3 separate regions of the Homo sapiens genome follow, and all the other regions are linked to region 1. Evidence: promoter capture Hi-C in 16 types of primary human blood cells and fetal thymus (Javierre and others, 2016). All regions are on one chromosome and are shown on one strand. The core of a region is centred on a gene start or on the middle of the fragment in contact, and the rest is flanking DNA. Distances in the headings are between cores, read along the strand shown. Region 1 holds the start of CPEB4 (cytoplasmic polyadenylation element binding protein 4). Region 2 holds the start of DUSP1 (dual specificity phosphatase 1). Region 3 holds the start of ERGIC1 (endoplasmic reticulum-golgi intermediate compartment 1).

Evidence for each region. The method cuts DNA at HindIII sites, captures the fragments that hold promoters and counts their contacts. A CHiCAGO score of 5 or more calls a contact.
Region 2: a contact is called between the fragment with the promoter of DUSP1 here and the fragment with the promoter of CPEB4 in region 1, in 1 of 17 cell types (activated CD4 T cells). The highest score is 5.6, in activated CD4 T cells.
Region 3: a contact is called between the fragment with the promoter of ERGIC1 here and the fragment with the promoter of CPEB4 in region 1, in 1 of 17 cell types (neutrophils). The highest score is 5.8, in neutrophils.

Annotation. Positions count from the first base shown.
Region 1 is chr5:173,886,902-173,889,668 of GRCh38, forward strand. CPEB4 (cytoplasmic polyadenylation element binding protein 4) reads left to right here and starts at 1,448. Exons shown (of 10, transcript NM_030627.4): 1 at 1,448-2,767. RefSeq lists an enhancer at 955-1,194. The HindIII fragment of the contact is 9,803 bases long and covers 1-2,767 here.
Region 2 is chr5:172,769,678-172,772,444 of GRCh38, forward strand. It overlaps DUSP1 (dual specificity phosphatase 1), which reads right to left and starts at 1,518. Exons shown (of 4, transcript NM_004417.4): 1 at 909-1,518; 2 at 484-629; 3 at 1-117. The coding sequence starts at 1,275. LOC105377730 (a long non-coding RNA gene) reads left to right here and starts at 2,534. Exons shown (of 3, transcript NR_188285.1): 1 at 2,534-2,767. RefSeq lists silencers at 866-975, 1,516-1,965 and enhancers at 1,005-1,766, 1,076-1,345, 1,767-2,528, 1,993-2,767, 2,529-2,767 and 1 more. The HindIII fragment of the contact is 7,766 bases long and covers 148-2,767 here.
Region 3 is chr5:172,832,811-172,835,577 of GRCh38, forward strand. ERGIC1 (endoplasmic reticulum-golgi intermediate compartment 1) reads left to right here and starts at 1,441. Exons shown (of 10, transcript NM_001031711.3): 1 at 1,441-1,623. The coding sequence starts at 1,604. RefSeq lists silencers at 1,294-1,693, 2,064-2,113, 2,124-2,203 and enhancers at 2,187-2,767, 2,674-2,767. The HindIII fragment of the contact is 12,096 bases long and covers 1-2,767 here.

The DNA of each region.
Region 1 (2,767 bases), core at 198-2,697:
AAGCTGTGCTGAGAGCAAAGCATTATCCTAAGCCCTGATGGTGGTCATAGCGTTGGGAATGTACAAAGATAAACAGGACATTAAAGCCCTTGAGTACCAAACATAATGAAAAGTCTGATATGTGAGCTCCAAACCAAATGGCAAAAGGAAGGAAATAATTAATTCAGACTTGGAAACAGGAGTGAGGGGTGGGGGGTGGGTGACGGGTGGAAGGGGTGGCAGTGGGTTGGGGGGCTGTCACTCAGGGAAGACTTCATTGTTGCTGGTTTGTTCATTCACGTTTTCAGGATTCATTCACTGATGTCTCCTATCTACAATGTCTGCTCCTGAAAGAGCCCACGGTCCAGCACAGGTCTGGAAGACATAAACCATCACAATATAGTGTGAGAAACAAGCACGAGAGGTACACAGGGCCGTGGACGCTTATAAGAGAGAATTCAGAAGATGCTGTTGGTGGCTTTTGAACTGATTCCTAGAAATAAATAGGAATTTACCAAAGGAGAAGAGTGGAAAGGACATGTAAAAAGGCATTGAGAGTGTGTTTGGAGGGGGAAGAGGCACTAAGATATACCACCCATTAGGTAGAAAGGCTTGAATACCAGACTAACAAGTTTGGCCTTTATCTTCGAAATAATGGGCAACCATAGAAGAAATCGGAGCATGTGAGGGTCAAGATAAAATTTTAGTTTTGGAATTTTCCCTCTGGTATTGCGTGTAAGGTGTACTAGATCGGGATGATACGGGGGCATAGCCACAGACGCCTCAGCTGCATCTCTGCACCTGGGAGACTGCACCAGATGCGAGCCTAGCAGAATGGGAGAGTGGGAGGTGCGGGTGAGCGAATGGAAGGTTAAGGGAGAGTCCCTCGTGAGGTCTACATTCTGGGCAAGGGCAAACGCAGTTCTAGGCACCGCACAGCTGCTGGCAAGACCCGCCTCCCCTTCCAGATCCCTCTGGGGCGGAGCTCGGGCCAGAGCACGTGATGCTTGGAGCACCACCTTTACTGTGGGCACCCTTCTCATTCATCCGCGGTTTCACGGGCCGCCACTTCGATCTCCAACACCTTGACCGTATGCCTTCGTGAGCGAGGAATCCGTTCTCCTTGACACGTCCCTATTGCTCCTCCTGCAAAGCCCAGTTAGGGAAGAGAAATATCAAAGGAGTCCCTTGCCCACACAAAAGATGGCGACCTGCTGCGCTCACTCTGGGTGGGGGAAGCGGGTTCCAGGCGCCGGGCCTCACTAGGCGAGGCGCAGACGGAAGAGGCGTCTCTGGAGGTAACTTTTCGACCTTCCTGGGAGTAGCTCTGAAGCGAGGGGGCGTGGCCTCGCCTGAGTTCTAACAGATGATTGGTCTTCCGGCAGGTAGGTGGGGAATGAGTGCTACCCCCACCCCTCCCTCTTCGAACCGGAAGTGTCTCTGGGTCTTTCCAGCTGGTTGTCATTTCACTCGGCTCGGTCCTGAGGAGAAGGACTCAGCCGCGGCTGCGGGACCCGGGCACCGGGAGGCGGTGGCGGCGGCGGCGGCGGCAGCAGCGGCGACAGCAGAGGAGGAAGAGGAGGAAGAAGGAAAGAAAAAGAAGAACCAGGAGGAGTCCTCAACAACGACAGCGGGGACTGCGGGACCAGGGTAAAGCGGCGACGGCGGCGACGGCCCAGCAACCGTGAGGAGAAACAAAAGCCTTCTAAATTATAGTTTAAAAAAAAATTCTGGGGGAAAAGAGAGAGAAAGCCGAGGGGGGAGGCCCTTCTCCTTTAAAATAACTACGGTAGTGGGTTTTTCCTTTTTTTCCTCTTTTTTCCCTCTCTGCGGAGAATCGAACTGAGGGAACTGAACAAACCGCCCCTGGGTCCCATGAGGGAAAAAAACCCCGGAGCCGCAGAGAGGGGAAGAGGCAGAAACCGCAGGACCTTCCAGGTCGCCCCCTCGGTCCCCGCACCCCCAGGCCGCCCGCTCACCCTCGTCGAGTCTCGCTAATCCCTCCTGATCGCGACCCCCGCAAGAGGGAGAAACGGGTGTTTCCAACCCCTTTCATGGGGGAGAGGAAGCCGCGGGGAGCCCAGGAACAGCGACCGCAGCAAGATCTGCACCCGGAGCCTCAGGAACAGCCCCAGAGGCCAAAACTGCACCCTGCGAAAGAGCAGAAAACAGGACCAGGAACAGCAGAAACCTCCCTGCAATCATCTTTCCATTAGTCAATGCTGATTTCCTCTCCCGAAACCAGGAATTCACTTCCCACCCCAGATAACCTAATATAATCTATATATATAAATATATAATATATAATGTTCTTAAATTATTCCTGATTTTTTTTTAACCAAGCTGCCAAGAAAAGAACGTATTCCCCTCTTAGTCCTATTCTAATTTTTATGTGAGTGAATCTAAACTGCTGAGGAAAACCATATGTGATTGTTAAATTATATATATCTATATTTTTACTCCGCGCAAGGCTTATTCTTCTACATCCATAGATGCTTGAGAAGCTCTGTTTTTGTCATTCATGTACATTTTCCTTTGGAAAAAGAAAGCGCCTATTTTACTAACCAAAGACTTGATTTTTACCCTCTTCATTTTTATTCCCTCCTAAAAATAAGCCCAATTGGATCCAAGTCAATGTTTTAAGAGATTTTTTTAAGAGTTGTTTTTTCTTTCAGAGACCAGAATTCCAAATCAGAACAATTTAAGGTGATAAGCTGCGATCTTTGAGCTAGCTATAAATAAGACATTTCAAGCAAGCAAGCAAACAACTTAAATTTGGGGTAGAGGA
Region 2 (2,767 bases), core at 268-2,767, 1.1 Mb before region 1:
ACAATTGGCTGAGACGTTGATCAAGGCAGTGATGCCCAAGGCATCCAGCATGTCCTTGCGGGAAGCGTGATACGCACTGCCCAGGTACAGAAAGGGCAGGATTTCCACCGGGCCACCCTGAAATCCAGAAATATCCAACATTCATCAAGCTTGCTCAAAGCCAAGGCCAGTGCCCATACCCACAAAAACTTTCTGCTGGAAAAGTCAATTTCAGATACCGAGTGAACTCAGTTCTGTTGCTGGAGGATAAATAAATAGGGAACTAAGCCCATTTGCCTGGGCAGGACCAGCAAGTTCATTTCCGTAGAGCCTACAATTGGAGACTCGGCTCCGTCAGACCACTTAACTGTGGAATAAATCATATCCCTGTGTCCCCTCCGTTATAAATAATGCTGCAGGTCACTTTCTATATTCTCCCTGGCACTACTCTTCCATGCCTTTGCCAGTTCTTACTTCTTCCCTGTGGCAGGGACACCTACTAACCTGATCGTAGAGTGGGGTACTGCAGGAACTGCACCCAGATTCCGCGCTGTCAGGGACGCTAGTACTCAGGGGAAGGCTGAGCCCCATGGGGGTCGACTGTTTGCTGCACAGCTCCGGGCAGGAAGCCGAAAACGCTTCGTATCCTCCTGGGAATACAAAGACATTTTTTTTCCCCATTAGTGACACCGGGACACGGCACCTTCATACAACTCCCCCACCCACCAAGGGCTGGAAGTTTACATCGGAAAGGCCCAGGCAAGTCTTTGTTTCCAGAGCCAAACAAAGCCAATGACAAGTTCCAGAGATAAATGTACTCCAGCGCCCACGCGCTGCAGGTGGGGCGATCCCCCGGGAGCCGAGAGCCAGGGGTACCGGGCAAAACCTCAGGGGTGTGCGGCCCGCCCCGAGCTTCCCCGAGGGCGTACCTTTGAGGAAGAAGACTTGCGCGGCGCGCGCCTCGCGGCAGAGCGCGCCGGCCGCCAGGGCCAGGGTGCCGTCGCGCTTGGCGCCGTCCAGGGCGGCGCTGCGCTCGTCCAGCAACACCACGGCGTGGTAGGCGCCGGCCAGCAGGCGGCCGCGGAGCTCGGCGTTGGGCACGATGTGCTCCAGGCCCATGGCGCCCTTGGCCCGGCGCCGCACGATGGTGCTGAAGCGCACGTTGACAGAGCCGGCGATGTGGCCGGCGTTGAAAGCGAAGAAGGAGCGGCAGTCCAGCAGCAGGCATTGCGCCGCTCGCTCCCCCAGCAGCGCCCGCAGGCCTCCAGCGTCCAGGGTGCCCACTTCCATGACCATGGCCGGCCTCAGCGCCCCCAGCGTGATCGGCCCTGCGGTGCTCTTTGTCTGTTCTCGGGGCCAAGGGCAGGGCGGCGCTTTTCGAGGAAAAGCTAGACCCCCGGGTCTCTCTGCGCCGAACCAAAAGCCGCTTTTGGACTGAGAGAGGAGCGTCACGCGGGGCTCCGGGCTCCTCGGCTTCTTCGCGGTTCCCCCGACTGCCCCTCCGACCCGCGTCGCACACACAGCCCAAATGTCCTTCGCAGCGAGCCTGGCCCGGGGAGCGCGTTTATATGCGGCCTCTGGGGGACGGGGCGGGCCAGACCCGCGCGCAGGGGGAGGGGGGGTGTTTGTTTGAATGGTGATCACGTGACGGGGCGGTGACGTCACCCGCCCTGCCAGGCCAGGCGCCGCCGAGCCAGAGGGGGAGACGTCATCAGCCTCGGAGCTGGGTCCGCTCGCCGCGCGCTGGCTCGCGGCCCGGCCCCCGCCCTGCTGTCCGGCCTGCTCTTGGCGCGTCCCCAGGGACCGGACCCGCGCCGCGCTCCAGGCCCAGCGGGGAGGAGGAGGGCTCGCTGCCAGCTGAGGCTGACCTCCGGGATGCGAGCGGCCGGGAGAACGGGCGACGTGCCACCTGCCTTGGCCTCGCCGCTCCTCCCTCTCTCCCTCCCCGAGTCCCCTTCCCCGTGCCCCTCGGCCGCCGACCTGAACCGAAAGGGGCTTCCTGTGCTTTTGCATACTCTTGTGCCCCTTTTCCTCATTTCCTCATCACTAACAGGCGGGGAAACTGAGGTTCCCCAGGCGAAGCGACTGACTTGCCCAGAACCACACTACTGGGGTGGGGGCAGCAAATAGGCGCCTAAGATGAAGTTTAGAGAAAAATGAACAACTCTGCCGATAGAAAAGTCGTCCCTACCAAGACCGACTCGAGCGAGTTGGGGCGGAGAGGTTCAGGGCAATGCTTTCCTGTTTCCCAGACTTTTCTTTAAGGTGGCTTTAAAATATCTACATTTGCCATGAAAGTGTGAGCAAGCAAACTCCCACCGGGAAATAATGCTATTCCTAGTCTTGTGGCCCCCGGAAGACTTGGAGCCAAGGGAGGCAGGTCAGGGGGCTGAAATCCCGGTGAGGGGTCGCAAGGCCCCGCAGTGGATTCCAGGGTTTGGCGTTTGGAGGGGTGAGGGGCGACCCGCAGCGCGACTCGACGGCGCCCCCCAGGGGCCGCCCGACACGTTTCTGTCACCTTGGCTCCAGACTGAGCTTCTCCATCCCTTTCTTTATTATACAAATAGGCAGTATACACAGTGAGCGCCCACTAAGCGCTGGGCTGGGGGCCTCCAACCCGGAACAGAAGCCGGCCACAACCCTCGCTCCCTGTCGTCGCGGCCGTTATAGGCCGAAAGCAAAATCCAATCCCGGGCCATTGTGGGCGGATTGCCAGGACCTGGATCGCAACACTTGGGAAGACCCCCGCCCCGCCCAGCGATCTCCGTGCCCTGAGTCCCAGTGACGG
Region 3 (2,767 bases), core at 191-2,690, 1.1 Mb before region 1:
ATATCATCCCAAATGCACACTTGATTCAGTAGGTCTGGCCTGGGGACAAGAGTCTGTCCTGTGATGGCCATGTGGCTGGTCTGTGGACCACAGTTTGAGGAGGGAGGATTCGAGGTCAAAGATCCATCATTGCATGTTTCCTCCCACACAGGGCCAACGAATGGCTGTTTGGAAGCAGTGGCTGCTCAAGATCCCTTAACTCTCCCTGCTGTCCCTAGGTTTCCAGTTCAGGCTGAGATTTCCTTTTCTCCCCCAACAGTGTCAGACCACTGACACTGAATGAATGAATGAATGAATGAGTGAATGAATGAAAAGGGAACGCAGAGGTCAGGTCCCGGCATATGCTCTAGGGGAAGGCTTTGGTTCACCACGTCACCCTACCCCAGACCCCGTGCTAGTGTTGTCCCTTCTGAATCCTCCCGGAGGAACCAGCACTGCTGTTCCCCTCTATTTACACAGGGGGAAACTGTCCATTGACTCTGCTTTTGGAACCCGAGCCCTCACCATTCTCCCCTGGGTTTTTTGAAGCCCTGTCCCACCACAACCTTGGAGAAAGGGCCAGTGACAGAACCTCGGGGAAGTTCAGAGTGAGTTTCCCCTACTCAGGTCTTGTGTGACCTCAACTACCATCTCCTCTAATCCAGCAGTCACGGAGGCAGCTGCTCTGTATTCCTGAGGAGGAAACTGAGGCTCTAAGAAGGAGACAATCGGCACAGTCCACGTTGGCCAAGTCACAGTGCAGGTCCCATCTGCCTCTGCCACAACCCTGCATGTTCTCGATGGACCTGGTTCAGAGCAGATGCTCTGTGAATGCCCACTGGAGTGAACGACAGGGGCAGATGGAAGCAGGGACAGCCACTGCCAGCCTCAATAGTTTCAGGTGCCTGGCACTGTGCTAAGCCAGTCTCCTGTTTCTCAGCTGATCCCCAGGAAAACCCCCTCAAGTAGGTGTCATCGTCCTCTTTGTGCAGATATGCAAAAGGGGCGGGGCGGGGGGGGGGCGCTCTGAGAAGCCCAGTGGCTTTCCCAGAGAGACACGGCAGGGGCAGAGGTGAGTCCACCTTAACAGCCTAGGATGGCCGACCTCTTCCCTTCCCCCACAGTATTAGGCCCTCACTCAGAGCTAGACGCTGTGCACGGCCAAAGTCTGTATCACCCCGCCCCCCGCCCCCAACTCAATCACAGTTCAGTGAAACTGTTTACAAATGCAAAAAACTGGGCTCGGAGAAGCAGAGAATTTGTCCGAGGGCATCCAAAGAGATGGAGAAGGAAATCTAAGTGGGAGGCTTGAAGGAATGAGTACTGGAGTCTTTGGGGGACTCCCTTCCCTTCCGACAGCCTCGACTCTCCGCCCCTTCCCTGCCTGCCCGCGGGCCCCTTTAACCGGGTGGCGGAAGGGGCGGCCGGGCGGGCGGCGCCCAATGGGCTGCGCGGAGCGTCACTTCCCGGCAGCGGGAGGCGAGTGGCGAGTGGCGAGTGGCGAGTGTCAGGGGGGCGGCCGGCGGGGGCGGGGCGGCCGGAGGAGGCGTTGGCAGCGGGCTCGGACCCACGCGGCGCCGCGGCCCGCCTGGCCTGCAGCGCTCCCACCCCCGGCGGCGGCACGATGCCCTTTGACTTCAGGAGGTGAGTGTGGCGACCCCGGCCAGTCGGGAGTTCCCTCAGCGGGCAGAGGGAGCGCCCCGGCACGCCGCGGACCCCTCCCGCCCTGCATGCAAAAGCGGCTCCCCGCCCTGTGCATGCCTCCGCAGGCCCCTAGGGACCCCAGGCGAGCCCCCCCCCTGCCGCACACGAAGCCAGCCAGAGCCGCGGAGGCCCCCTCGTGCAGCGGGAGACAAATCCACCCACCTTCCCTCCGCCGAGCCCCCTCCCCAGCCTGCCCGGATACCTTGCATTCCCCTCCCCCACACTAGGAAACATTTCCTCCCTCCTCCCAGATGGGAACAGCCCATAACACCCCAGCATCCCTCTCCTCCCTCTACTGAGCCTCCTTGGTGGACCCCACCTCAGCTGACAGGTGGGGCAGGGCACCTGGAATGAGTCCGGAGGGGCCTGGGGCCCCATGCAGCCTGCCGGCAGCTGGAGGGTTTTAAGTTTCTATAGCCTGAGGCTCCCCCAGGCCGGGCAGATCGGGAGGCCTGCCCCCGCCCCTCCCTCCCTCAGCCCCAGCCCTGTCCGCTGGGTATGGGGGCACCATGGGAAGGGGAGGAGGCGCCTTGGGCAGGACTCTGCAGAAGGGCCACCGGGGTCTGGCCTTGGCTTTCTGCAGTCACCACAATGGGTCCTTTGTGGGGTCCAGCTGCCTCATGGTCTAGGTTGCATGGGGCATTCTGGAAGCCTGCGGGGGAAGAGATCTCCACCAGAGGTTCCCTTGAGGTGTGGAGCCCCAGGGGATGTCCTGGCCTGAGGCAGCCACACTTGGTGTCTGGCTGGGAAAAGAGCAGGGCTTTAATGCAGGGAGGAGCTGGATTAGAATCCTGGCTCTGCCCTTTCTACTGAACAGCTCGGTATATTCTAGAAGTTAGGGGCAAAGGCTCTGGGTTCAGAACTCCCTGTCGCCGCTCGGCTGGCTGACCTCAGCAAGTCTCCGAGCGCCCTCAGTTTCACCACCTGCAAATTGGGGCTAAAAATAAGGTCTCCGCTTGTGACGACTGAGTGCGTGAAACACCCTTAGCAGAGTCTGGCATGATTTAGAGCTCAGAAATAGGGCATTAGTGGATGGGGGGTGTTCTCCAGGAGGGGTTTTCCACATCCACAAAATAGTGATTCA